4 separate regions of the Homo sapiens genome follow, and all the other regions are linked to region 4. Evidence: promoter capture Hi-C in 16 types of primary human blood cells and fetal thymus (Javierre and others, 2016). All regions are on one chromosome and are shown on one strand. The core of a region is centred on a gene start or on the middle of the fragment in contact, and the rest is flanking DNA. Distances in the headings are between cores, read along the strand shown. Region 1 overlaps PITX1-AS1 (PITX1 antisense RNA 1). Region 2 holds the start of UBE2B (ubiquitin conjugating enzyme E2 B). Region 3 overlaps CDKN2AIPNL (CDKN2A interacting protein N-terminal like). Region 4 holds the start of TXNDC15 (thioredoxin domain containing 15).

Evidence for each region. The method cuts DNA at HindIII sites, captures the fragments that hold promoters and counts their contacts. A CHiCAGO score of 5 or more calls a contact.
Region 1: a fragment that was not itself captured here is called in contact with the fragment with the promoter of TXNDC15 in region 4 in 1 of 17 cell types (M2 macrophages); the score reaches 5.3 in M2 macrophages.
Region 2: a contact is called between the fragment with the promoter of UBE2B here and the fragment with the promoter of TXNDC15 in region 4, in 11 of 17 cell types (fetal thymus, non-activated CD4 T cells, naive B cells and 8 more). The highest score is 12.1, in fetal thymus.
Region 3: a contact is called between a fragment that was not itself captured here and the fragment with the promoter of TXNDC15 in region 4, in 1 of 17 cell types (fetal thymus). The highest score is 5.8, in fetal thymus.

Annotation. Positions count from the first base shown.
Region 1 is chr5:135,208,967-135,212,038 of GRCh38, reverse strand. The region is part of intron 3 of PITX1-AS1 (PITX1 antisense RNA 1); the gene reads right to left. Among named protein-coding and RNA genes, the nearest start is that of LINC02900, 38 kb to the left of the region's middle. The HindIII fragment of the contact is 2,458 bases long and covers 132-2,589 here.
Region 2 is chr5:134,370,120-134,373,343 of GRCh38, reverse strand. It overlaps UBE2B (ubiquitin conjugating enzyme E2 B), which reads right to left and starts at 1,775. Exons shown (of 6, transcript NM_003337.4): 1 at 1,705-1,775. The coding sequence starts at 1,748. It also overlaps a transcript of CDKL3 not described here. RefSeq lists enhancers at 1,443-1,542, 2,483-2,552, 2,061-2,656 and a silencer at 1,963-2,012. The HindIII fragment of the contact is 3,578 bases long and covers 1,546-3,224 here.
Region 3 is chr5:134,407,873-134,410,860 of GRCh38, reverse strand. It overlaps CDKN2AIPNL (CDKN2A interacting protein N-terminal like), which reads left to right. Exons shown (of 3, transcript NM_080656.3): 2 at 859-958. Among named protein-coding and RNA genes, the nearest start is that of CDKN2AIPNL, 2.5 kb to the left of the region's middle. The HindIII fragment of the contact is 868 bases long and covers 1,181-2,048 here.
Region 4 is chr5:134,872,954-134,876,281 of GRCh38, reverse strand. TXNDC15 (thioredoxin domain containing 15) reads right to left here and starts at 1,911. Exons shown (of 5, transcript NM_024715.4): 1 at 1,752-1,911. The coding sequence starts at 1,854. LOC124901071 (a long non-coding RNA gene) reads left to right here and starts at 884. Exons shown (of 2, transcript XR_007058943.1): 1 at 884-1,038; 2 at 1,150-1,451. RefSeq lists enhancers at 1,276-1,345, 1,239-1,944, 1,876-2,165, 2,186-2,235 and a silencer at 1,526-1,635. The HindIII fragment of the contact is 3,704 bases long and covers 1-2,791 here.

The DNA of each region.
Region 1 (3,072 bases), core at 111-2,610, 340 kb before region 4:
CCGCCAGGTAGCACCATGGTAGAGCTAGAGGTGAAGGCAATGGCTTTGGACAGCACAGACCTGGACTGGGATTCCAGCTTCACCACCTAGCAGCTGTGCGACCCTGGGCAAGTTACCTAATTCTCTAAGCTTTCATTTCCTCCTCCACAAAGGGAAAATAACAATACAACACTAAGGGGCTGCAGAGATGAATTCAGTGAGTGTGTGCAGCCCTGCACAAAGTTGTAGTTCAGGACCAGCAGCATCAGCATCACCTGGGAACTTGGTAAAAATGCAAACTTTTCACCTTAGACCTACTCAATCAGAACCTCTCGGGGCGGGTCTCAGCAATCCCTGCTTCACAAGCCCTCTGGGTGATTCTCACGTACACTGTAGGTTGGAGAACCACTAAGCTGTGTGTGGAAGGTGATTAAGAACTGGCATCTGCCACGCAAGCTACAGTCACAACTGCAAGAATCGCCATCTGCCCCTCCTGTCTCCCTGGAGACAGGAGGCTCAGAAAAGTCAAGTCACTTCTCCAAATTCAAACAGCTAGAACCCAGGCAATGTGACTGCTGGGGCCACAGCCTTCCCACCACACCCTGCTGTCTTCCATTTAAAGCTCAAATCCTAATGCGGAGTAAGTGCTGAGGATGTTCTTTACAGGGCTAAACAGAGGCGAGTGTGGGTAATAGTTGTAAACACTCTATCACTCTGCAGGGAAAGCGAGAAGACTAAGAATAGAAATCATCCTTCCTAAAATATAAGGATGCAGAGCCTCTCAGGCCAGAGATGACTTCATTTCTTAGGAATAAAGGGCACTGGATACACAGAGGGTTCTCCAGGACACAGCTGCTGGGTACTCTTAGGAATGCCCAGGCATCTTAACAGCACTAACAGTAGCTATTTGAGCTATCGATTTCTTTAGTACTTTTCTAACACAAAATGGAAAACACAATTATCAGCTAGTCATGAACTTTGTGACTTTCTCTCCAGGTCTCAGTTTCTCCATGTGCAGACAGGGGAAGCAGTAAGCACCCAAATGCTCTATAGCTTGAGGAAGTGCTGTTTTCCCCTTCCCCATCTGCAATTTGGGCTGAGGCCTCCTCCCAAGGACAGGGTCTCCTTAGCTCGCACTGCACGGAGTCCCAGTGCACTGTGCACCTACTGTGTGCAGACCACTGGTCACATCCGCAGCAAGCACTCATATAAGCCGGAGCCCCAGGCTGACAGGGAGAGAGAAGAGTGTGTCGGTATCTGGGAAACCATTTTGCAGAGAACTCACAGAAACCAGGACCACTGCTGCTCTGCCTCCATGCCTCATCATGTCATCCCAAATTAAAGACCTCTGTGGGCTCTTTGCTTTCAAGAGGAAATTCAAGCTAAATTTAATCTGCCTCAACACCCTGTCTGGCAAGCACTAGGCCCCCAAAAAATGCTTTTATACCAATGCACATAAAGCGATTCACTCACGGTACACCCACCCCCAAACTCCATAAAACCCTGCTGGCCTTATCGGCCCCTGCAAAGCTCCTACAACCACAAGACTGGCACACGGCCTGCAATTCCACCAGGAGCTGCTCTTAGCTGGCCCTCACTCACCACACTCTAGCCACACTGATGGTTTTTAATTCCACAAGGAAACCAAGCTCTGCCCCTACCCCAGAGCCTCTGCAGCATGCTAGTCCCTCATCTGCACTGCTCCTCACTTACTGGGTTCCATCCCAGTCTTTACGCCTCAGCTCAAGAGTTACCTCCCAAGAGAAGCCACTGTATCCAGACTAGGTCCCTCTATCCCATTTGTTTAATAGCACTCTTCACAACTTGCCATTGTCTTTTAGTCTCTTTGTGCTTTATCTGACTATCCTTCCCACTCTAATGAAACAGCTCCAGTAAAATGGGCACCATGTCTGTCCTGCTCACCCATGTATTCCTAGTACCTGGTACGCTACAGGTACAAAATAAATGTTTGTAGAATGGGTGGGTGAATGACTGAGTTCCCAGGGAGAGATATTAAAAATAATTACCATCATCCACAATGAATAGAGGGAGTGATGGGGTTCCCTGGTTGGGGAGGTGTGGATGGGGCAGGCAGGGCAGGCTCCTGCCTCCCTCTCAGAGACTGGTGGGACAGACAGAGAATGGCACCAGAAAACTCACCATAGGACCGATGGTGACATTCTGCCCTATCACTAGCTACCCCTGAAGAGGGCATCTCAAACAGCCTGTGGTCCATGACCACAACATGCAGGCCAGGGTCTGAGCCCTAAGGGAGGAGACCTTTCCCTTCCCAGCCTACCTGTACCTTCTCAAGGTCTGCTGTGGGCCAGGGTCACTGGTGGGAGATAGGGAAGGGCACCCTGGAGAGTACAGCAGCCATCGGCACCATGTTGACAGGCCCCAATGGGAGCCTGATCTCATCACGTCTTCCCTGCTGACAAAAATGCAGCTCCCTGGGTGGGGACACTTACAGAGAACATCAGACCCCATGCCCAACCCCCCATATAGATCCCAGCCAACATTTCCAGTTTGCGAGTTTCTCTAAGCAGATGTGTGCCAGACTGGGCTGGATTACCATTGTAACATTTGCCTTTCATGGGAGTCTAAGCTTCTCCCTCCCAGACTTAGATTTGAAACAAGCTGTGATGGATGTTCATGCTAATAGGAAGACTAACAGCTGGTCACCATTTATTTATGCAAAGAACTTCACGTGGGGAGAAACGTCTACATACCACATCATCAACTAGACACCATTCTGTTACCACGCACAGGCCTGCCGTGTGGGGCTTCCTGCTAAATTAGAGTCCTCCTGTCCCCATGGCTTCTCCTGCCCAGGGATCCCTCACTGAGGAGGAGATGAGGCTGAGGAGGGGGTTTCTCCTCGCATTCATGTCCTCACTCACTCCATGGCCCCAGGCTGGAGTATTTATATAGCCACATTGACTGCTTGCAGCCAGCGAGGTCCATTAGTAGGATGTAAACAGCTCTCAGCTCTTCAAAGGCCAGGGCCAGCCATTCTGTGGGGTCTGAGTCAGCCTGCCAGGGGCTCGCGTTTCAAGCCTTATTCATCTTCCTGATAACTTCCATAAAGGG
Region 2 (3,224 bases), core at 526-3,025, 500 kb after region 4:
TCTGCAAAATGGCTACAAGAAAAAAAAAAAAAGCAAACCTCAGTGTAAACACAAAATGACTGAAAACACATTAAATTTAACTAGGAAACTAGTATTAGGCAGCAGATTTACTCTATTCCTTTTGCTTCAAACAGCAATGGCTTTAAAAAGTAATTAGTAGGTTTTCTGCCAGTCCCTATTTTAAAGGCTCTGCACTAACACCAAATCCACCTCTCAGATCAGGAGACTCAACACAAGGCTTTCCAACATTCGTCATAGTCAAATTCTTGTAACCTGCAGATCTCTGGAAACTACAAAAGGTGCCATGCATTCAACTCAGAATTAAGCAGAGCATTACAGTAAGGAGCCAGGGCGACAATGACATGAACTAGTTTACTATCTGAATTTGTCATGAGTGCTAATCAAATACGCTGATTTCAAGCTTTAGAAAGATGACTTTTGCACCAAAAAGGGCATCTCCTTTCAGAGACTGTAACCTCAATTAAAAATGCTACATTATATACACACACAAATACATATGCAGTTGTTTTTCATGGGGCATCATAATTTGCAACTAGTCCACATTAAAAAAATGGTTTTTAGTCAATCTCAAGCAAATTAGGCCACCACGAACAGAAGCCTTAGAAGAACTGCACTGCTTGACGCCTACCTTTAAATGGCTAAGAGAAGCTACGAATGAATTAAATAAGTTGGCCAAATCCAAGTGCCTCACATAGGCTTTATAATAGCTGAGAGGTGACTTCCTGAGCGACAAATCTAAGTTTTTATGCTAGATATTTTGTTCAATTAGGGCAGGTGTCCCCAGAAAAAATGTTAAGAAAAATGTGCAGAGTATCAAAATGATGTTTTCTCACTTATTTTTTCTATGTCTCTAAGTATCCAATAAAAGGTAAACAACGGAATAATCATTTTCTATCTCACAACCCCAATACCTCCTAACAAAACCCTATTTTATTTACCAAAGGAGGCCCAGGGAGTATCAGATTAGCGCCAGTCTAAGGGAAGGCATTTTTCCAGACTCGGGAGGCTATAGATAGGGGCTTTCTTCACCAGCCAGAGCTGAGTTCCAGAAAGCACTGGCAGCCGGGGTGGCCAGCTCTAAGGTCCCAGATCTCTAAGTCAGTTCCCAAGGTCCTTTCAGGCGGGCGGGGACAGAGTCGGGTTTCGGGGGATGGGTTAACCTCCGGGCCTCACGCACTGGACCCCACCCTCAGGGCACAAATGGAAAGGATTGGCAGGAGTCGGGAGAGGGGTTCGCCCCAACACGGCTCCTCGGAGAAGACGGCGGGGCCGTGAAACAAAGCTGACTGGTGCTGCCGGAGAGGAACAAGCTCCCGCAGGAGCTCACTTTGAGGGGACAAGAAGGGGGCGCCGCAGGGTGCAGGGGCGGGCGGATAATGTCTGATCGCCTGGGCGAGACGCCGGGCAGCTGGCCGAAATGGGCAGCAGGGAACCCTAGACCAGTCGATCGACACCGTTTTACTTTTTGTGGGGAGGGGAAGCAGTATCAAAATTTCTTCGGGCGCCAGAACGAGCGGCAAAGCTTATGGGAGTAGGGCCGAGGCTAGGACCCGGCTTCCGCCAGTCCCGCTGGGCCCACAGCCGGCCCTCTGAGGGTCACAAAGGGGAAGGTGTCTGGGATCCACGCCCTGCAGCCCCGCAGCTTTGAGGGGCCGTCATCTAGGCGAAGGTGAAGGCCCTTACCGCTTGAAATCCCGCATGAGCCTCCTCCGGGCCGGGGTCGACATGCTCCGCAGCTGCCCCGCGGTCAGTCTGAAAAAAAAAAAGTCCCGCGCAGCCCCCCCACCCCCCGGCGCGGCGGCCGAATCACTGTGGATCGCCGCCGCCGCCGCCGCCGCCGCCGCCGCCGAGACTGACAAACAACCCTGCAATGACGTCTCCCTCCGCCGCCTCCGGATCCCTCCGCCCTCCGCCGCTACCACAGTGTGAGTGCTGGGGGAGGAGGGGGCGGGACGCGGGAGCGCGCCTTCCCCGAGCCCTTCAGCGGGGCGCGGTTCCCCCTGGGCTTCCTGAAGTAATAGACAAATTTGTGTTCTCTGTGTTCAGACTAGAGGTTGTGGATTCAAAGACCACGAAACAGAAACACTATCCCGTCTCCCTCCCCGTCACTAGTTTAGGCTCGGCGGGGTGGAGAAAGAGGGACGCATCCGGGCCAGAGATTTCAGGGAAAGGAGGTGGGATGATGTAAGATCACGTGACTGCCCGCGGCCTTGTCAACAATCCACCCCTGAGTGGGAGGGGGAGAAGTATCTAGAACCACGTGTCCCTATGACGCGTTTAGAACGGGTCACGTGAGCGCCTCGCCTGGATGTGAGTTTCAGCCAGGTCTGTGAAGCGGGTTTAAGAGGGTGAGGGCGGGATAAACCTTTATTAGTTGTTTTCTGTTTATCACAGGTATAGAGACAACATTACCCAAGAGGTCATGGCAGAATCAACAGCTTGTTTTGTTTTCTTTAAACCGGGACCAAAAATAATTCCCCTCTGGTTGGTTCAGTGGCTTATTAACTCTGGTACTTGGGGCAAGAAGAGTGAGAGGATCGCACGATCTTCTAAGGCAGCCTTGAATACTGAGGCCCACACAACAATCTCCTGAAATGGTTCCTTGAAGCTACCAGATAGTCTTTCTGCTTTGCAGTGGGGTTTCTAGTATTGGAAATTCTGGGCAAATATTAAAGGATGGTGTATTATGCAGTTTTTCCTTTCTGGGTCTGCTTTCAATTGAAGATATGTGTCAGAGTCCGGGGACTTGCCTATGGTGGGGGAGTACCATTGTATTTTTAAGGAATGTGGGGGTGCAGTCTTCCAAGCATATCAATGAGTGGTTGGTTGTCAAAGAAACCTACAAATATGATTCATATTCTGGGGGAGAGCTCCGGCAGACATGAGTGAGGGTTATATATCTAGCCTGAGATAACTTCAGGTTTTCTACACTAGCAAGAAAGGTGCAAATGGGCCAGAAGGGCCCCCCACCACCAGGGGGTTCAGAGGTGTTGACCTCCCAAAGACCTTGAATATTTTCTGTGGTCACCGTCCTTCCCTCTATTGCTTCCAATTCCTACCTTCAGGACTTTGTTATACTAAGGACTCTGAGTACTTTTGTATCCATTTGGGGAACTGTTCAGTTCAACAGGTAAAGGGAGGGTGGAATGAGGACCTTAACATTGCCTCAGCCTTGCCCCTGATTCCATGGAAGCAGAGTTAAC
Region 3 (2,988 bases), core at 365-2,864, 470 kb after region 4:
GAAATTGTGTTAGGAAAATAGGGTGACTTGGTTTGATCTTGGTTTCTATACCTATTATGGCTGCCTGACTCTGGTCATTTGGCCCCTGCAGGCCTAAGCCACTTGGTTTTGCTTCACATATTGGGGTTTATTAGAACAGTACGTAGGGAAGCAATGCCAGAGGCACCCGTCCCTTTTCCCTGCCTTCTAGGTGCTCCTGGGAAATCCTGGTTTTCCATGGTTAGGCAAATGTCAGAGAATTGGGGAAATAAATAATGTTTTTGTTAGACTAACATTCCATGTATTTAAAAAATAAAAATATTTTGGTCCTCATCCTGTATCTGAGAATATCTGTTGCTGGATGTACAGTGCCTCTGTTCTTCTAAATCTTGAAACATCTGCTGTACTGGTATTTCTGAAGTCCACTTCTGTATCTACAAGCAAGAAGTGTTCACAGGGCCAGGCACGGTGTCTCACGCCAGTAATCCTAGCACTTTGGGAGGAGGATCACTTGAGGTCAGGAGTTGGAGACCAGCCTGGCCAACATGGTGAAACCCTGTCTCTACTAAAAATAAAAAATTAGCCAGGCGTGGTGGCACACGCCTGTAATCCCAGCTACTCGGGAGGCTGAGGCAGGAGAATTGCTTGAACCTGGGAGGTGGAGGTTGCAGTGAGCCGAGATCACACCACTGCACTCCAACCTGGGGGACAGAGCAAGACTCCATCTCAAAACCTTGTGGGGAACATGTATAGGTTTGCCCTGCAGTATCAGGTCAGTTCTCTGAGAGCTGATTTTATAGTTGAGCAACCTGCAGTTTCTTATTAATCCACAGTGACAATTGTTCCAAGGTTTTTACCTTACTACTTTTTATTGTGCAGTTACAATAAAGACCTTTTAGACAAGGTGATGGAAATGGCCGATGGGATTGAAGTGGAAGACCTGCCACAATTTACTACCAGAAGTGAATTAATGAAAAAGGTAAATAGGATTTCCAAGTGCATGTGATGAAATGGTGTAGAGTTAACAGTCCCTGCCTTGATGACACTATATTAGAGTATATTGTTTTTGAATGCTCTTTACTGCCCCAAAGACCTATACCCTTTCATTTTTATTTCCCCATAATTGGTATAAGCCTTTTCATAAATAGTTGACAACTCACTGTGGTAAATTATGCATTGTTGATGAGGTAACACATAAGCTTAACCTCTTCCGGTTGTTTAGGAACATTGTTTTGAGATTTTTGCTTGATGTTTAAAAAGATGTTGGCTAGAATACTTAAGTTTCCTACTTGTTAAAAAATCTCATTGGTAAGACTCATCCTTACCCCAGGTGTGAGTGCCGGTGTGAGTGCCGACCTGACTTGTTTGGCTTCTGTGATTTGCTGATAAGAACGTGCCTGGAGCAATGTCGATGGCATAGCTGTTCTCTACCCTTTGGGGTCTGATCTCAGGCGATGGGCTTTTTACAGTGAGTCTTGCCTAGAGTCTTGAATCTGGACACTGGAGCTGGGGCTACAGAATGTGGCAGAAAGAACCTCAGAATATGGAGCTGGGCATCCCAGCTATTAATACTTTTCAGAATCACCTCCAAAACATGCTTGTTTCACATTTGTCTGCTCAGGCAGCAGAATTAATTGCTCGCTTATCTTCTGAAGTTCCTTTGGCACTTTATCCAGGGCTCTTTTAAAGCAGTTGTGACCTTACAGATGGTGTCTAAAGTTCTATTTAGTCTTTACAACTCCCAAACCTAGTATACTTATACCCCAGAGAAGGTACTCAGAAAATACTTATAAAATCGACTGAAGCAGTAGAGTAAAAAGCTGCTGGCCCCTTTTTAGGTCTGCCCTTAGAAACATAGGTAAGCCCATTCCTCCACATTTAGGTCTTGTCTTGGGAGGTGGGGCACATATAGAGGTCCTCTTCCATATGGGTGTCAAGGAACTAATCAGATTCTCAGTTGCTCATAAAGTATTTCAGTCCCAAATAGTACACCCCACTTGATTTTCAGGATGGTTTGTTTTTCTTAAAAAAGTATTCTTTTAGTTTTAATCTGAACCTGGGGAAAAGCTTCAGGTTGGTTTTCGAGATGCTATTATGTTTTAAAATCAGCTGTTACCTCAACACAGTACTCCTGACAAAAAATCAGTAAGTAAAATCAGCTGTTTTTTTGTTTTTGTTTGTTTGTTTGTTTGTTTTTGAGAGGGAGTCTCCCTGTGTCGCCCAGGCTGGAGTGAGGTGGTGCGATCTGGGCTCACTGCAAGCTCTGCCTCCCAGGTTCACACCATTCTCCTGCCTCAGCCTCCTGAGTAGCTGGGACTACAGGCGCCTGCCACCACGCCCAGCCAATTTTTTTTTTTTTTTTTTTTTTGTATTTTTAGTAGAGACGGGGTTTCACCGTGTTAGCCAGGATGGTCTCGATCTCCTGACCTCGTGATCCGCCCGCCTCGGCCTCCCAAAGTGCTGGGATTACAGGTGTGAGCCACCGCACCAGGACTAAAATCAGCTGTTAAAAAGGGGCTACTGTTTTTAGCCAGGGAGCAGTGTGAATTGGGAGTGTGTGGCTTTTTGGATCTTCTCATGTAATACTTAAAAAAATACTGGGCAGTCCTTGGGTGTTCTATAGTAAGGTTCTTGGGGCCCAGCCAGGGAGGAGCTAGATAGTTTCTGGCTACTGGAGTATACCTTATGGGGCAGGGGCAGGGGCAGAGGTAGGCAGGGAATGAGGTGAGCCTTTATTTTTAATTTATTTTTTAGATAGAGGCTCACTTTGTCACCCAGGCTGGAGTGCAGTGGCACGATCTCAGCTCACTGCAACCTCTGCCTCCCAGGCTCAAGTGATTCTAGCGCCACAGCCTCCCCAGTAGCTGGGATTACAGCCGGGTGCCACCATACCCAGCTAATTTTTGTATTTTTAGTAGAGAAAGGGTTTTGCCATGTTGTCCAGGCTGGTCTTGAACTCCTGGCCTCAAGTGATCTGCCCAGCTTCCCAAAGTGCTAGGATTACAGGCG
Region 4 (3,328 bases), core at 662-3,161:
CACAATGGAAGCAAGACGGTAGGACAGCTGGTATTTATTCCACACAGGACAGCCACACAGGGCACAGAGCACGGTGGAGGGGCTGAAACAGAAGATATCCAACCCATGCCATCCCCTCTGTGAGGCTAGCAGTTAAGTATAGTGAAAATGCAGAGGTTGGGCTCTGAAGTCAGGCAGACATGGGCTTGAATCAAGGCTCCTCAACTTCTGGCTGTATGACCTTGTCAAAGGACTTATTGGCTCTGAGTCTTAAGTTACTTCTATAAAATGAGCATGATAACATCTACTGCATATGCATTTAAAAATTACTAAGGCCAGGCACGGTGGCTCAAGCCTGTAATCCCAGCACTCTGGGAGGCCGAGGTGGGTGGATCACCTGAGGTCAGGAGTTCCAGACCAGCGTGGCCAACATGGTGGACCATCATCTCTACTAAAAATACAAAAATTAGCCCAGTGTGGTGGCAGGCACCTGTAATCCCAGCTACTCAGGAGGCTGAGGCACGAGAATCGCTTGAACCCGGGAGTCAGAGGTTGCAGTGAGCCAAGATCGCGCCACTGCACTCCAGCCTGGGCAACAGAGCGAGACTCCATCTCAAAAAAAAATAAAAATAAAAATTACATAAACCGGGAGCAGTGGCTCACATCTGTAATCCCAGCACTTTGGGAAACAGGTGGGAGGATCACTTAAGCCCAGGAGTTCAAGGCTGCAGGGAGCCATGATGGGCCACTGCACTCCCGCCTGGGCAACAGAGCAAGCCCTCATCCCTTAAAAAAACAAAAACAAAACAGTAAAGATTCCAAAAGATGATGCTCGTAAAGCACTGAGCACAGCATCTGGTACACAGTGAGCGCTTTCATTCATGGTAATTGTGTTACTATGACTCACCCTTCTCCACAACTCTCTGCTGTCCTGCCTCCATCCAGGACACCCCAGGGAAAAGAAAGACCTGCCTATTCCTGTTAAGGTCTAAATGACAAGCGAGACCGAGGGTCTGGACTTTAACAGGACTATGAGGAGTGGGGTGAAGGAGCATGAAAGTAAGGCCTCCACTCTCCACCCTCGCCATGCCTCTAGAGTGGCTGCCTTCCCTACCGGCAAGTTGGGGGTTACCGGGAGTCTCCCGTGTTTCTCGTCTGTTTTTCATGCAGGGAGCTGAGCAAGACTGGCCTCCTTAAGACAGTGGTCCAGCAGCGTGGACTCCAGACTGGGCTTTGGCGTCAGAGAGACAGGCTTCTGCCACGTATCAGAAGCGCAAACTTAGGCGGGGCCTGAGCATCTTCATCTGTGAAATGGAGACACTAAACGGAACCGATCTGACAGGGTTTGTGGGAGCATTAAATGGGATAATGATGTAAATAAAGCACGATGCACAGTTCCTGGCTCCTAATACGGCCACAACAATGTCGGTATTTGATATAATGTTATTAATAATAAATTGCTTATCACCAGAGGGTATGCCTCAGCAGCGCTTACCGCACTGTCCCTCCTGGCTACCAGCCACGGGCTGAGGGCGGCCTGAACGCGGCCCAACCACCCCCGGGCTCCCGTCCACCGGCCCTCAGCCCACCGGCCCCCTTTCGCGGGCCACCAGCGGGCGGTGCGCGGGGAGAGAAGTCGGGGAGACGCGCCCGGGGAGACGCCAAGAAGGGGCGAGTCGCGCACCGCCGGCCTTCGCGCAGGTCCAGAGCGTCGCCCGGGTGGACCTCAGCTCGCCCCATCATCTCATGCACCGCCCCCGGCCCACACTCACCCTCCACGCCGCGGACGGGAAGTCCCAGCACCCACAGCAATACTTGCCACCAGCCGAGGAGCCGCATGACGCGGGGCGGTCGTCGACCGGCAGCCGGGACCATTGCCCAGGCCGAGAGGCAATCGGCGCACGGCTACGCGAGTCGTGCTGCCAGCCGGAGGAAGGCTGGGGGAGGAGAGCCTGGGAGCGCGGGCGCGGCCCCGCGCCGCCATCTTAACACCTGGCAGCTGTGGCGGGCGCCATCTTGGAGTCGGGCGGACGGCCTCTAGCCGCTGGCCGTCGGCGCTGGACTGGAGACCTCTTTAGGAGCTAAGCGCCAGACGTTGCAGGTCGTTTTGAACTCTGCTGACCCCAGAGTGCAGAGCATGGCTCTGGCAGAGGCCCATGGCCTCCTTTCTTCCCTCGGAAGTCAGAGCTTGGCTACTTGAAGCACTGCGCCCGCCTAAGGAGGGTTTTCCACGCTTCATTCCCAGAGCCAGAAAGGCCCAGGAGCCTTCCTGTTCTAGTGTCCCATCGAGGTGCAGAAACTTTGGAGGCTGCAAATCTTCTAATCGCTTGCCTAACCTGTGCTCCCCTACCTAGGGTTGCCACATAGAATACCTGATACCCAGTTATATTTGAATTTCACATAATGAATATTTTTTACTATAACCCTTATAGTATAAGGGATATACCTTAAAACTGAGCATCCTGTAACTTCGTGACATCTGGCAACCCTAACCCTACCTATCCACTCAGGGCAGGAGAGGTTGGTTTTAACTGATTTACCTTGCAGGGCAATCTCTTTTTAATCATGGTTGGGGCCGTGAGCATCATTGGCTCTGGCTCATGGTGGAGGTGGAGCCACCTCGAGCATAAAGTAGATAGGAAAGGGCTTAGAATGAAGAAAGCATAGATGGGGAGATGAGGAACAGGGCTCTGCATTCCCAAGCAAACGCACAGAGCGGGAGTCTTAAGAGAAAATTCTTGGAATAGAGAGGATGACACCACTAATTGGGGTATTTTGCCGGGGGGCCTGCTAAAATGGAATAAGGCAAGCTTTAAGCAGCCACCAGTCAGTGCTAAATCAGTGCAGAGTGCAGCTTTTCAAACTTATGAGGTTGAAAAAATAGAAACTGATTTAAAATACATCAGTCTATTGGTTAACATAGCAATGGTAAGGGGAACCTGTGCTTTTTGGCCGCTTGGTGAATCCCAACTTCAGCACATGTGATAGTTCACAGTCAGCAGGTTATGTAACTTAAAGTTAAGTTTCTTCAGCTGTAAAGTGGAAATGACGTTATATAGAGTCTTATAGATGAAATGAGATGTAAAGTGATGAGCACAGTGTCCTGGGGCACAGGAAGCATTTCAAAGTGGTAGGCATTATTAATTGAATAATACAATTCTGATGGTGTGGCCATAGTCCCCTTATCTCTATGCCCATCAAAAAGACACTGTTAGGCCAGAAAGATGCATCATTAATCTGTCCCTGTGGATGATTCTTTTATTCTAAATACGTTGGTATGGTTTTGCTGTTGTAGATCCTCAAGTGCCATCTTGTGGGTCCAGAAGAATATGAAACAATGGACATGGAT